Linked DNA regions of Homo sapiens: regions 1, 2 and 4 are each linked to region 3. Evidence: promoter capture Hi-C in human tissues and cell types (Jung and others, 2019). All regions are on one chromosome and are shown on one strand. Each heading gives the region's core, a stretch centred on a gene start or on the middle of the fragment in contact. The rest is flanking DNA. Distances are from core to core; before and after follow the strand shown.

Region 1 (3,541 bases), core at 187-2,686, 260 kb after region 3:
GGCCTCTAAGAGCTGTTCTTTTTTTCTCTTTCTCTGCGGCAGGGAAACAGCCCAGCTGGCGGCTGACCTCACCCTCTGATTCATGCTCATCAGTCACGTGCTGGTCTTTTTTTCAATCCCTTTCCCTAACAAATATATTCCATCTCAGACTGGTCTCCTAGGAAACCAACCCTCAAAAACAGAAATAGACCAAGAGGAAAACAGGAATACTCCCCAAATTCCACCTTGTAATGTTTAATAATGAGAGAACCCAAAGAACAGAAACAGCAGTTAGTTTATGTAATTAAAATGTGTGGACTTTTCCTCTGTAGATTTTAAACTCGGCTTTGGATCATGCCCTAAGGACAGCAACCATTTTGAAAGAAACTACAGATCAAATGATTAAAACGATTGCAGAAGACCTTGCTAAAGCACAGAGGTGGAGGAATCGACTGAAATACTAGTTCAACGCTAGGCTACCAAGGATTCAAAAGAAAAAAATGCAAAGAAAACTTGATCTTCCCCCAAAATGTATTTTACTTACTACACAATTTAGGAAGATGACTTTCTAGAGAAAACACAGAAACCATAAGAAATGGGTAACACAAAGTACTTAAAGGAAAAAGAAAAAAGAAAGGACTTCTGATTCTTAAAATCAAAAGCAACCAACAAGTATTTATTTTAAAATAAATCTATGTTCTTCTTAACTCATAATAAAAGAAATCAAAACAAAACAATGAATTTCCTTTTATCTATTAGTCTGAAAAAAGATTAAAGTTTGAAGAAACCCTGTGTCAGTGAGGATGGAGGGAAACTGGTACTCTCATATGCTGTTGGCAGAAATGCAACCTTTTTGGAAGACTATTTGGTAATATCTACCAAGTTCCACAAATTCCAAATCATGTACCTTCAGAGCAGCAATTCCACTTCTAGGAATTTCTTTTACATATAAGCCACACAATGTGGCATGATATATGTACAGGGAAGGGCACTGGAGCACTGATGGTAACAACCCCAAGGGGGAACTAATCTAAATACCCCCTGTGATGATTCATAAATGACAATACTTTGTGGCCACCGAAAAGAATGAGGTTGGATTATCTGCAAAAGTCAGTGAAAGAAGCAAGATGCCTAAGCATATATATAGAGAGTTGTAACCTCTGGGGTCTTTCTATGTTGCCCAGGCTGGACTTGAACTTCAAGCAATCCTCCCGCCTTAGCCTACTGAGTGGCTGGGACTACAGGCACACACCAATGTGCCTGGCTCTTCATTTGTGTATTTTTTTTAAAAGGGCATACGTATTTTCAGGAAAGATACCTAAAAATCTGAAGTGAACCTCTAGTAAAGGAAACTGGGAGTTTTGGGGGAGAAAGGGGTTTTTACCTTCTTTTCTGTACTATATGAAATTCTCACAATATACTTATAAGTCAAAATTATTTGTTTAAAGATCGCTTGAAGTCAGAAATATGTGAAAATAATAGCCTTAATGAAATTTTGGAAAAGACAATTCATTAAAACTGTGTACCAGAGATTAAGTACATTTTCATGCAGACCAGAGCAGGCTTTTTTTTTTTTCCTTCCAGATCAAGCTTTTGCTTTCCTTCTTTAAGAGTGATTTATTACCTCCTTAGTGACAGCACAGCAGGGTATTGGCTCTTTCCCCCTTCCCTGAAACTTCTGATTTTCATTCACCCTAGACATTCAACAAATGGTTTCCCAACTCCCAGAGTTTGGCTCAGTGGTCAGGAGGGAGTTGAATCTATTCCCACTTTAGATTTTCGTGCCAATGTGAGCAGCTGGTATTCGTCTAGCTGGCTGGAGAATGGACTGTTTTTAACTTTGGGGTTTGTAAATTGGTTTAGGGTGCCCTGGAAGAGATAATGCACAGGTCAGTCTGAAAATACCTCTGACTTTATGGCCAAATTTACTTCAGGCTGTGGCACTGTAAGGAAGATAGCAAGGAACCATGGCTGGTATTAGAAAAAACAGAGCTTAAACTGTGTATGTTCTATTAAATAAAACTTATGGGAGGTCATTTTTTTGGACTAAGCTCCTACAGGGGACCCCAACAGACCAGACCAAACTAGAATGGAGTCACTCATGCTAGGTGCCACGTAATCAAACTGAACTTTAAAATAGGTCAGTTTAAAAGAAAAAAAAAAGACCCAGAACATTCACAGTATCCCATTAGAAGGGGCCCCGTCAACCTGAGCTGGCATAAGGAAGTCCCCTCTGCTTTAACCCATATAAAGACACCTTTTGTTCCTTGTTTCCATTTTCTTCTGTTTTTTTCTGCCTATAAAGCCCACTCCTGTGCTCAGCCTTTCTATTTCATAGATAGGATGCTGCCTGATTCATAAATTGCTAATAAAAGCCAATTAGGTCATTAGACTTAATTTGTTGACATTTTGGTTTTTGGCAGTTCCAAGAGGCTTCCAGTATCATCACATATCTAAATTTAATCACAACTTGCTAATCTGTTTTGTATGTTAGTACCACTATCTCATCCCCAAGTTTAAAATCATATACTTCTCTGGCTTGAAGTGTTCTTATATGATTCATTAGTTCTTAACCTTTTTTGGGCTCATTTTTTGGGAATCTGGTGAAAGCTATGGAGTCTCCCTTCCCCCATGCTCTGCCTTCTCGTGGAAAAGAATACATTCATTTTTAAAAGTTCGTGGACACCATGAAACAAATCCATGGAACCTTGGTTAGAAACGTCTACCATTAACGAATATTTCTAAATCCCTCAAATTAACATTTATAGAAATTGGTAATTATAATCATTTTTGATTTAAAAATATGGCCCATTTCTGCTTTATCAAACCATATTCTAAATGTAATTTTCCATTTCCTTGAAGATTAGGGGTCATTATGAGCAATCACTGCAACACGACTAATCTAAGAAATAGCAAAAAAGGGCAGGCAATGCCCTTAAGGAGTTCCACAAAGACACTAGGCTCTGATTTACAAGGATAATTTTATACTTACTGATCCTGTAGTCTTGGCCATCTCCTCCCTCATGCAATTCTTGTGTCAATTCTAATGACCTCTCTTCTAATTCTGTTCGAGTAATAAACCAGAAAAACAAGCTTGTGAAGTAAAAGTAATGGTACCCCTAATGCTGGCATCAAGGGACTCAGCATTGCCTGAGGGCTGTAAAGAAACACCTGGCAGTCTCCAGGGTGCACAGGCCTCTCAGTATTTACTCCAAGGTCTAGCTGTGCTCTGGCCGCTGGAAGCTGCCAGCAGGATGCAATGGGACTGTCTATAGAGGGCTTTTTATCATCTTTTTATTATTTTTTTTTATTTTTATTTTTTTTGAGACGGAGTCTCACTCTGTCGCCCAGGCTGGAGTGCAATTGCGGGATCTCGGCTCACTGCAATCTCTGCCTCCCAGGTTCAAGTGATTCTCCTGCCTCAGCCTCCCGAGGGATTATAGGCACCCACCACCACACCCAGCTAATTTTTGTATTTTTAGTAGAGATGGGATTTCACCATGTTGGTCAGGCTGGTCTCCAATCCCTGACCTCAGGTGATCTGCCTGCCTCGGCCTTCCAA
Region 2 (3,364 bases), core at 32-2,531, 340 kb before region 3:
TAGCTGGGATTACAGGCGCGTGCCACCACACCTAATTTTTGTATTTTTAGTAGAGATGGTGTTTCACCATATCGGTCAGGCTGGTCTCGAACTCCTGACCCTGTGATCCACCTGCCTCTGCCTCCCAGAGTGCTGGGATTACAGATGTGAGCCACCGCGCCTGGCCTAAGTTTTTGTATTTTTTGTAGAGACGGGGTTTCGCTGTGTTGCACAGGCTGGTCTCGAGCTCCTGAGCTCAAGTGATCCGCCCACCTAGGCCTCCCAAAGTGTTGGAATTACAGGTATGAGCCACAGTGCCCTATTAAGGATTCTTAATGAAATCTTGGAGCCTTCTAATCTGCTCCAGTCTGGACTGGTTGTTCTCTGGGCCTCCTGTGTACCTGTGGACTTCATTTTCTGTGAGATCATTCTAGGCATTCCCTTTAACTCCCTCTTGTGTAAGGCCCCATGTCATCTTTTTTGATTTATTTGCTCAATTTGGTAGAACCCATTTTCCAGTAGTATTGTAGAAACTATTTATTTATTTATTTATTTTGAGGTGGAGTTTTGCTCTTGTTGCCCAGGCTGGAGTGCAATGGCGTGATCTCGGCTCACTGCAACCTCCGCCTCCCGTGTTCAAGCGATTCTCCTGCCTCAGCCTCCTGAGTAGCTGGGATTACAGGCATGCGCCACCACGCTGGCTAATTTTGCATTTTTAGTAGAGACGGGGTTTGTCCATGTTGGTCAGGCTAGTCTTGAGCTCCTGACCTCAGGTGATCTGCCCGCCTCACCCTCCCAAATTGCTGGGATTATAGGCATGAGCCACCGTGTTTGGCCAGAAATAATTTTTAATTTTCAACTTCTTTTGTTTCTTTTCTTCTTATTAGCATCCCGTTCTTGTTTTATGGATGAAATGTCTTGTTTTTCTTCAACAATTTTCTAATTTTTCTTGAAAATTTTTTTCCTTGTGGACATTGTTGCTCATCCCTATAATCTCAGTACTTTGGGAGGCTGAGGGAGGAGAATCACTTGAGCCTAGGAGTTCAAGACTAGCCTGGGCAACATAGCCCGTGTCTAGAAAAAATTTAAAAAATTAGGCTGGGCAAGGCTCACACCTGTAATCCTAGCACTTTGGGACGCTGAGGCAGGAGGACTGCTTGAGTCTAGAAGTTCAAGACCAGCCTGAGCAACATAGTGAGACTTTGTCTTCACAAAAAATTTAAAAAATTAGTTGAGTGTAGTAGTGTACACCTGTAGTCTTAGCTATTTTGCAGGCTTAGGTGGGAAGATCTCGTGAGCCTGGGAGGTTGGGGCTCCATGAGACGTGATTGTGCCACTGCACTCCATCGTGGGCAACAGAGTGAGACCCTGTCTAAAATATTTTTTTTTCCTTTTGAACTGGTCAGATTGTTTAGAGCTATGTTTTTCAAACTGCAGGTCTAGACCTATTAGGAGATAATAAAATAAATTTAGTGGTCATGAGGAGCATTTCTTTTGAGACAGAATGTCACTCTGTCACCTAGACTGGAGTGCAGTGGTACGATCACAGCTCACTGCAGCCTCAACCTCCCAGGCTCAAGTGATCCTCCCACCTCAGCCCCCAGCTACAGGCACATGCCACCACACCCAGTTATTTTTTTTTATTTTTTGTGGAGGTAAAGTTTTGCCATGTTGCCCAGGCTGGTCTCAAACTCCTGGGCTCAAGTGATCTTCCTGCCTCAGCCTCCCAAAGTGTTGTGATTATAGGCATGAGCCACCACTCCTGGCCCACATTTCTTTTTTAAGTGAAACAGAGCAGTAGATATCAAAATGCCTTGCCCATAGTAGTGATGAGTGGTTTTTTTCCTGAAATTTTGTTTCTGTTATGTATTTATATTTATTTGTGGGTTTTAGTTATGAAATCAAATGTATTCCTTACTGTGGCTTTTGGTCAAAAAGTTTGAAAAACATTGCTCAGGAGAAAACTGCCTCTTCTCATTTCATTCCGGGAGGGTATTTCTGGCTGCTGGCTTCTGAGAGCTGAGTAGGGAAAGAAGGCTGAGGTTCTTAACATTTGGTTTGGAAATTTTTACATATTTATCCCGTTTTCAGTACATTATTCCTGCCTTAGACTGTGCTTGGTGTCCCCAATCCAAAGACGCTCTATTTTACGGTCTCCAGAGAATAAGCCTGGAGTCTTCCACGGGAGTGGGGGAGGTGCAGTCGTCTAGCTTTACAGCATAGGGGAGGGGATCCGGGAATCTGTTTCTTAAACATTGAACCACCTTGCAATTTTTAGCTCCTTGTTCATTTCCATTTCCAGAGGTCCTTGTTGCCACCATTTCCTTTTTTGAGGTCCTGTGATAAAAATCAGGTTGTTTCTTTACTTTCTTTACGGCTGGTTTAGGATTTGGATTACCCAGGTATCACTAACCTATCTTCTTTTTAGCTTCAAAGTTTTGTTGCTGTGTCTTCTCCCACTCTCTGTTATAGTGGATTTATGCCTTTTTAGAAGTCCTTTAATCTTACATCAATAGACTTAAGGAAGGCGTGGAACTAATGTTATGTCTTTAGTCTGCACCTTTAACTAGAAATATGAGCATTCATTTTTATTTATTTATTTTTTGAGATGGGGTCTCACTCTGTTGTCCAGGCTGGAATGCAATGGCGTGATCTTGGCTCACTACAACCTCTGCCTCCCGGGCTCAAGCAGTCCTACCGTTTCAGCCTTCCGCGTAGCTGGGAGTACAGGCATACGCCACCAAGCCTGGCTAATTATTGTATTTTTTATAGAAACAGGGTTTCACCATGTTGCCCAGGCTGGTCTTGAACTCCTGGACTCATGCAATCTGCCCACCTCAGCCTCCCAAAGTGCTGGGATTACAGGCATGAGCCACCATGCCCAACCTGAGTACTCATTTTTTTACATAAAATTTTTTGACAGTTCATCTCCTGTAGTTATGCAGGTATCCACTGATTAAGAAAATACATGACAAAAAGCTGGTGTACATTTAATAACACTTCTAAATAAAGTCACAACTCAACACATTTGAAAAATAATATATATGCGTGTGAAATGATCATTCAGTCTGCAGACATGTTAAGCAAGTTATACATAAAGATTCGTGGGATTCTTTGGAACTCTTTGCAGTGCTCACACTTGGCAGTGATTACTTTGTAGAAATAACTAAATATAATGGAATTCAAAGCAGAAAGCATAGTCATGGAAGGCTTTGATGAGTGGAATTTGGATTGGGGGAAGGAAGAATGTATTCCAGGGGAGACAGCATGAGCAGAGGGGTGCAAGGGTAGGAGATAACGTGGCTTGAGCCAGTGGGCTGGGCTATACCTGAGGGATTTTGTTGGAGAATAACGAGTAGTGAAGTTGGAAGGGAAAAGTGGCATC
Region 3 (3,688 bases), core at 460-2,959:
GGGCAAGCAGGATGTGATTGCCTCTCATTTTAATGCCTCTTTGGGCCTAATAATTTAACTCACATTCCTCAAATCAAAGTTATTTTTTCATTATTCACTATTCAAATTATTACAAGTGATGTTGCTTTTGGTGACGTTATTTCTTGAAATGGTACACAGCTCTTAATGAATTCCAGACCAAACAAAATACAATTACTATTCAATTTTGGGGTAATAACATTCCTAGAAACTTCAACGTACATTAAAAGTGTGGGAAAATGCTTTGTGTTTATTTTTTTAATTTTTATTTTTTGAGGTGGAGTCCCGCTCTGTCACCAGGCTGGAGTGCAGTGGCACAATCCCGGCTCACTGCAACCTCTGCCTCCCGGGTTCAAGCGATTCTCCTGCCTCAGCCTCCCGAGTAGCTGGGATTACAGGCGTGCGCCACTACGCCCAGCTAATTTTTGTACTTTTAATAGAGACGGGGTTTCATCATGTTGGCCAGGATGGTCTTGATCTCCTGACTTTGTGATCCGCCCACCTCGGCCTCCCAAAGTGCTGGGATTACAGGCGTGAGCCACTGCGCCCGGCCGCTTTGTGTTTATTAACAAAGATAGGTTCAACTCTCAGATAATTAGTTTTCACTCACCGAATGTTCAGCAGGACATTCAGAAATCGTGTGTATTACGGGATTTTCTTTATGTAGCATCATCTGTTACACTGTAGGGACATTTATATTATATCCCTAGCTCTGGCCTTCCGATGCCTGTGGTTTTGCCAGCCATTGTTCTGACCAAAAGCCTTCCCCGGTGGACACGGTGGCTCACACTTGTAATCCCAGCACTTTGGGAGGCAGAGCGGGGCAGATCGCTTGAGGCCATGAGTTCCAGACCAGCCTGGGCAATGTGGGGAAACCCCATCTCTACTAAAAATACAAAAATTAGCTGGGCATTGGTGGTGTGCGCCTGTAATCCCAGCTACTTGGAGGCTGAGGTGGGAGGATGGCTTGAGCCCAGCAGGTCTAGGCTGCAGTGAACCCTGATTGCGCCACTTCACTCCATCCCGGGGGACAGTGAGGTTGTGTCTCAAAAAAACAAAAATAAGGCCGGGCATGGTGGCGCACGCCTGTAATCCCAGCTACTCGGGAGGCTGAGGAAGGAGAATCACTTGAGCCCGGGAGGCAGAGGTTGCAGTGGGCCGGGATCGCGCCACTGCACACTTCAGCCTGGGCGACAGAGTGAGACTTCGTCTCAAAAAAAAAAAAAAAAAAAATCAAAAAACCTTCACAAAATTTTAAATGCTTAGTCTCGGGACACCATCTCTTGGAAATTTGTGATGAAGCACAGTATCCCCAATAATTAACACAGTGCTTAGAAACAGTGGAACTACAAATCTTTAAAATGATTTAAAAGCATATTTGTCTGATAAAGGACTGCTGGCTTGCCCTCCTATGATCCATAGCTTCGCAGTCCCCAAACAAGAAGCTGTGATTCAATACGCAGTAGCAAATTCAGGGTGACAACGAGATACTCGCGACCTAGCCCGTGATTTCCTTTTCTTTGTTAGTTTTCAATTCCTTCGGGATTACAGGGAGGCGCTCCGGCCTCCTCCCTTAGAGACTGTCGCATTTCCGCCGCTAGGCCGGAAAGCACCACCGTCCTCCCGCAGGCCGCAGAGGGCTAGGCCCAGCTACGGCCCCGCGCGTCACCGGAAGTGAGGCGGCGGAAGTAGTGTAACCAGCTGGGAGCCAGCCGGCAGGACGCTGTGAGTTGGCGTGCTAGTGGGATGGCAGATGAGGAAGAAGACCCCACGGTGAGTGACCGTCTCTGTCCAAAACCTGTCTTTTCTTCACTCCTTCGGGCTCAGTAGCGGAGGCAGAGTTCAGGATCGGGTCTGCTTGCCTTAGTGAATTCAGCGGACAGAGTTCGGGGACTTCACGCCCTAAGGATTGATCATTTTAGAAAGTGGGGAAGGACATGAAGGAAGAGTAGGTTTTGTGACCCCTTTCCCCTTGATTTTGGTCTGTATTTGCCAGACACTGAAACACGTACAGAATCATCAGAGATCAAAACTAACATCTATTAGCGCGCACTATGAGCCAACAGTTCAATTGTTAACAAAACTGTACTTACTGTGAAGTAATGGGAAAAGAATGCATTGAAAGTCAGACAGCCTGGATTTCAAAATTTCCATTCTCTCTGAGCAAGTTATTTAACTTTGAACATCAGTTTTCTTTTTATAAAATAGGGTTACGGGCTTACTTAAGGAACGTTTTTAGCACTGTATAAGCAAATGCATAGGAAATATTAGTTTTGCTTACTACAAAGTCTACAAAGGTAGACTTTGATTCAGTATCAACTGTTTAACAGTAACAGTAGTAATAGGCCACCTTAGTTGTTTAAAAATAAAACTTATGGTCATTGGAACTCTTACAAGTAGAAGCAGTAGGATTATTAGTTAGGAACATTGTAGAAGCCATTTTTGCATGAGTTGGAAGTTGGACTAGATACATAGGCTCCTTCAATGCTAAGGTTTCGTGGTTTTTTTTTTTGCTGCTTCCTTTGGCTTTCTGGCCTATCTGTTGAAAAGGAAAAAAAAATGTCATTATTAAAATATCAAATGCAAGGCAATTATTTGACATTTCTATATATACATTTTAACTTCTAGTTTGAGGAAGAAAATGAAGAAATTGGAGGAGGTGCAGAAGGTGGACAGGGTAAAAGAAAGAGACTTTTTTCTAAAGAATGTAAGTAGTATTTGACAATGATTTTGTTATAGATGATGAAAACTTTTGGACATGTCCTTTCAAAGTAGCTTTATTGCTTTGAATGTTTCCCTGTAGGGATAATATTCTCAGACTAGCCTATCAAATTCTGTTTAACTTTTGAATCAGATAGTACCAATCCTAACCCCAATTGTGTGTGTGTGTATAAATTGCTTTTTTTTTTTTTTTGAGACGGAGTCTCGCTCTGTCGCCCAGGCTGGAGTGCAGTGGCGCAATCTCTGCTCACTGCAAGCTCCGCCTCCCGGGTTCATGCCATTCTCCTGCCTCAGCCTCCTGAGTAGCTGGGACTACTGGCGCCGGCCACCACGCCCACCTAATTTTTTTTGTGTGTTTTTATTTTGCTTTATTTTATTTTTTTAATTTTTTTAGTATTTATTGATCATTCTTGGGTGTTTCTCAGAGAGGGGTATTTGGCGGGGTCATAGGACAATAGTGGAGAGAAGGTCAGCAGATAAACATGTGAACAAGGGTCTCTGGTTTTCCTAGGCAGAGGACCCTGCGGCCTTCCTCAGTGTTTTGTGTCCCTGGGTACTTGAGATTAGGGAGTGGTGATGACTCTTAACGAGCATGCTGCCTTCAAGCATCTGTTTAACAAAGCACATCTTGCACCGCCCTTAATCCATTTAACCCTGAGGGGACACAGCACATGTTTCAGAGAGCACGGGGTTGGGGGTAAGGTTATAGATTAATAGCATCCCAAGGCAGAAGAATTTTTCTTAGTACAGAACAAAATGGAGTCTCCTATGTCTACTTCTTTCTACACAGACACAGTAACAATCTGATCTCTCTTTCTTTTCCCCACATTTCCCCGTTTTCTATTCGACAAAACCGCCATCGTCATCATGGCCCGTTCTCAATGAACTGTTGGGTACACCTCCCAGACAGGGTGGCGGCAGGGCAGAGGGGCTCCTTACTTCCCAGATG
Region 4 (3,264 bases), core at 310-2,809, 280 kb after region 3:
GGATCAGTCTGAATTAAGATGTGCTGTAGGTACAAAACACCAGGAGACTTGAAGTAATACAATGCAAAATTATCTAATTAATAACTTTTTATACTGATTATATGTTGAAATAATATTTTGAATACATCAGGTTGTCAAAGTTTTTTTTTTCTTTTTTTTTTTTAAAGAGACAGGGTCTTGCCCAGGCTGCCCTCAAACTCCTGGGATCAAGCAATCCTCCCACCTCAGCCTCCTGAATAGCTGGGACTATAAGCACACACCACTGCACCCAACTTATTCGTAAAATTAATTGCACTTTTTAATTTTTACCTGCATTAACATGGCTATTAGAATAATTAAAATTACATGCAGCTTGTATTCTATGAGGGGCAATGGTCTAAACAGTTGAGGCATGATATAAAAGGCCCCTTGTAAAATGAGCTCTGCTGGATGCTATATTAAATCCCGTACTGAGAAGGTCCTGCCAATAATGCCACCCTGAAATCATGCTCCCAAAATTTAAATCATTCCATTAAACAAAAAATATATAATATATTAGGAGGGACTGTTTACTAAGATACTCTACAGCTACTTGTTAATGTTAGCGGGGAATGACATTAAATACTGCCTAGGTGGCTCCCCTGATAAGAGAGAGTCTGTGATTCTGTAAAAACCAACCACTGTATCAAGCAAAAAGTTAGGTTTTAACTTACAAAGTTTATCCTTGAAATTTGTTATGAACAGAGGCATTTCTGACTCTGCACATACCTGTTCAGTTTTGCAGAGCTTTTCTATATTAAGCTTGAACTTATTCATGCAATCTTCTGCTAAGTTAAGATGGACAACTTGCTGAAAAACAGAAGAAATCAATCATTTAAAGGATTTTAATGACTTTTGTGCAACTGGTAATATTAAACTTTTGAGACAGGCCTGAAAGAAAGTATGGGCTGAGGTGAAAGAAGGTAACATGTAAGCAAGGGAACAGCTCAAGAAAGGAAGTAAATGAGAAGGTGATTTACAGGTGAAATGGTTTGGCTATGTCCCCACCTAAATCTCATCTTGTAGTTCCCATAATCCCCATGTGTTGTGGGAGGGACCTGATGGGAAGTGTTTGGAACATGGGATGATGGGAGTGATTTTCCCCATGCTGTTCTCATAATAGTAAGTGAGTTCTCATGAGATCTGATGGTTTTACAAGTGTCTGGCATGTGCCCTGCTTGTACTTCTCCCTCCTGTAGCTTTGTGAAGAAGGTGCCTGGCTTCCCCTTTGCTTTCTGCCATGACTGTAAGTTTCCTAAGGCCTTCCCAGCCATGTAGATCTGTGAGTCAATTAGACCGCTTTCCTTTATAAATTACCCAGTCCTGGGTATTTCCTTACAGCAATGTGAGAACAGACTAATACAACAGGAGGCAATCAACAGACAGCATAAATGGGATGGAAGCATTGAATTGTTGAATTTGTGTTGAGTTTGACAGTAATGAAAAATAACATGAGAAAAATACCCAGAAGTTCTTCAAGTTCATATTCTATTTATCTTTCTAAATGTTTCAAGTATTTTAACACACACAAAAATCATTGGTTGACTAGGGTGCAACATGACAAAAATGTTAAGATTATTCTGATAGTGTTTTTAAGGAGCAAAAAAATAGTTTACCTGACTAAACAGCTTAAATGCTCTTAAATCTACTAGTAAGTAACTATTACTTTAAAGAAACATGTAGAATAACATCCACTAGTCAATCTAGTGCTGAATTTCTTGTAAGGTTGATAAATGTGACTCTGTTAGGCTATTCAAGACAAAGATATAGAAACTTTAAGCTGGATTCAGATAAATCTAGGTTATACATATAGAGAAGTTATGAAGAAGCTTAGATATATGGGATATCTCTCAGACCTATAGTAAGGTTTTAGAGGACAAATAACACCAAGTATTCCACGAAACCCACTGCTAAATCGAACTACAGAACTGAATATAAACTGAATATAAACTAAAACTAATCAGGTATCTCATATACAATACTGCTTACCTTAGTAATCTGTTTTCGGAAATGGGGCATCTTTTTCATCAGCTGGGTAAGAGCACTAAGTGATGTCTAGGAAAAATCAAACATTTTTTTAGGCAAGCCTATGATTCAGTTATTCCATATTACAACTTTGAAATCCTAGAGTTTTACAAATTATCAAATCTAGTTAATTTACTGAATATTTGACAATTTTTTTGAAAGAAGAATTTAGGAGGCTTCCAGTTTCACTCACAATAACGTAGCTGATATCAACATTACTCTCCCTTCATAAATAAATAAGATTGGACAAATAAATAAAACAATAGCTTTCAAGTAATGGATAAAAATAGCTCACAGCTGAGACAGCTGAGTGAAGGAAAGCACCAAAGGTGATCCCTGCACGCACCCTTCCTTTCCCTAAAGATGTTTTCCAAACACCACTGAAAGGAAATACAGTTCAAGTAGAGAGCAATTATCTCCCTGGGTGCAAAAAAAAAAAAAAAAAAAAAAAAAATGGAGATAAGAGCTTGGGGCTGTGAGGTAGATTTTGGGAAGCAGAGTGCTAAAAAGAAAGGAGCTAGACAGAACATAACCCAAAAATGTGTAAAGAGATTGTCCTTGAACCCCTAAGCTGCACATGTACAGGGCATAACCCTCAAAGGTGTAGTAAAGAACAACTTCTGGGTGGCTAAATGTTGGACAAGATTTCAGAGGGGTCTTAGTGCTAAGAATATACTAGCATCTCCTGATCTAGACAAAGTAAAGAGACCTAAGTGAACATCCTACACATTCAGTCCTGGGACTATGCCTTAGGACTCAGTGCAAAAGTGAAATAAATTTACCATAACATTGTCTAACATGAAGTTACAACAGAATCACGATTATTCCTCAGCAACTTAACTGCCTGCCAGAACAAAACTCAACATTCTGTGTAGAGACAGCATCATCTAGAACCTCTGCAATGTATCATCCACCATGTCTAGCACAATAAAACATTAATAGGTGAAACAGGAAAGTGATTGATACTCAAGTGACAAAACAGTCAATAAAAGTAGACCCAAGATAAGGAATAAGTTCTAGTGTTTGATATCACAATGATGGCTATAGTTAACATATATTTTGTATTTCAAAATAGCTAGAGGAAAAGATTGGAAATGTCCCCAACACAAAGAAATAATAAATGTTCAAGGTGATGGGTATTCTAAATACAATGATTTGATCATTACACACTGTATGCACGTATAAACATATTACATGCCTCATAAATATGTACAGTTACTA

Evidence for each region. The method cuts DNA at HindIII sites, captures the fragments that hold promoters and counts their contacts. A contact is called where the count stands out against the background at its distance.
Region 1: a contact is called between a fragment that was not itself captured here and the fragment with the promoter of TAF13 in region 3, in 1 of the 25 tissues and cell types used here (dorsolateral prefrontal cortex).
Region 2: a fragment that was not itself captured here is called in contact with the fragment with the promoter of TAF13 in region 3 in 1 of the 25 tissues and cell types used here (hippocampus).
Region 4: a contact is called between a fragment that was not itself captured here and the fragment with the promoter of TAF13 in region 3, in 2 of the 25 tissues and cell types used here (adrenal gland and pancreas).

The regions. Positions count from the first base shown.
Region 1 is chr1:108,813,073-108,816,613 of GRCh38, reverse strand. AKNAD1 (AKNA domain containing 1) reads left to right here. Exons shown (of 16, transcript NM_152763.5): 16 at 312-713. The coding sequence ends at 443. It overlaps LOC105378891 (a long non-coding RNA gene), which reads right to left and starts at 3,024. Exons shown (of 5, transcript XR_947687.3): 1 at 2,972-3,024. The HindIII fragment of the contact is 4,821 bases long and covers 1-3,541 here.
Region 2 is chr1:109,416,325-109,419,688 of GRCh38, reverse strand. The region is part of intron 2 of PSMA5 (proteasome 20S subunit alpha 5); the gene reads left to right. Among named protein-coding and RNA genes, the nearest start is that of PSMA5, 8.4 kb to the left of the region's middle. The HindIII fragment of the contact is 7,328 bases long and covers 1-3,364 here.
Region 3 is chr1:109,074,024-109,077,711 of GRCh38, reverse strand. It overlaps TAF13 (TATA-box binding protein associated factor 13), which reads left to right and starts at 1,709. Exons shown (of 4, transcript NM_005645.4): 1 at 1,709-1,791; 2 at 2,647-2,725. The coding sequence starts at 1,765. RefSeq lists enhancers at 1,452-1,701, 1,802-1,861, 2,466-3,452. The HindIII fragment of the contact is 17,261 bases long and covers 1-3,688 here.
Region 4 is chr1:108,792,391-108,795,654 of GRCh38, reverse strand. STXBP3 (syntaxin binding protein 3) reads right to left here. Exons shown (of 19, transcript NM_007269.4): 12 at 2,008-2,073; 13 at 748-828. Among named protein-coding and RNA genes, the nearest start is that of STXBP3, 47 kb to the right of the region's middle. The HindIII fragment of the contact is 3,217 bases long and covers 1-3,167 here.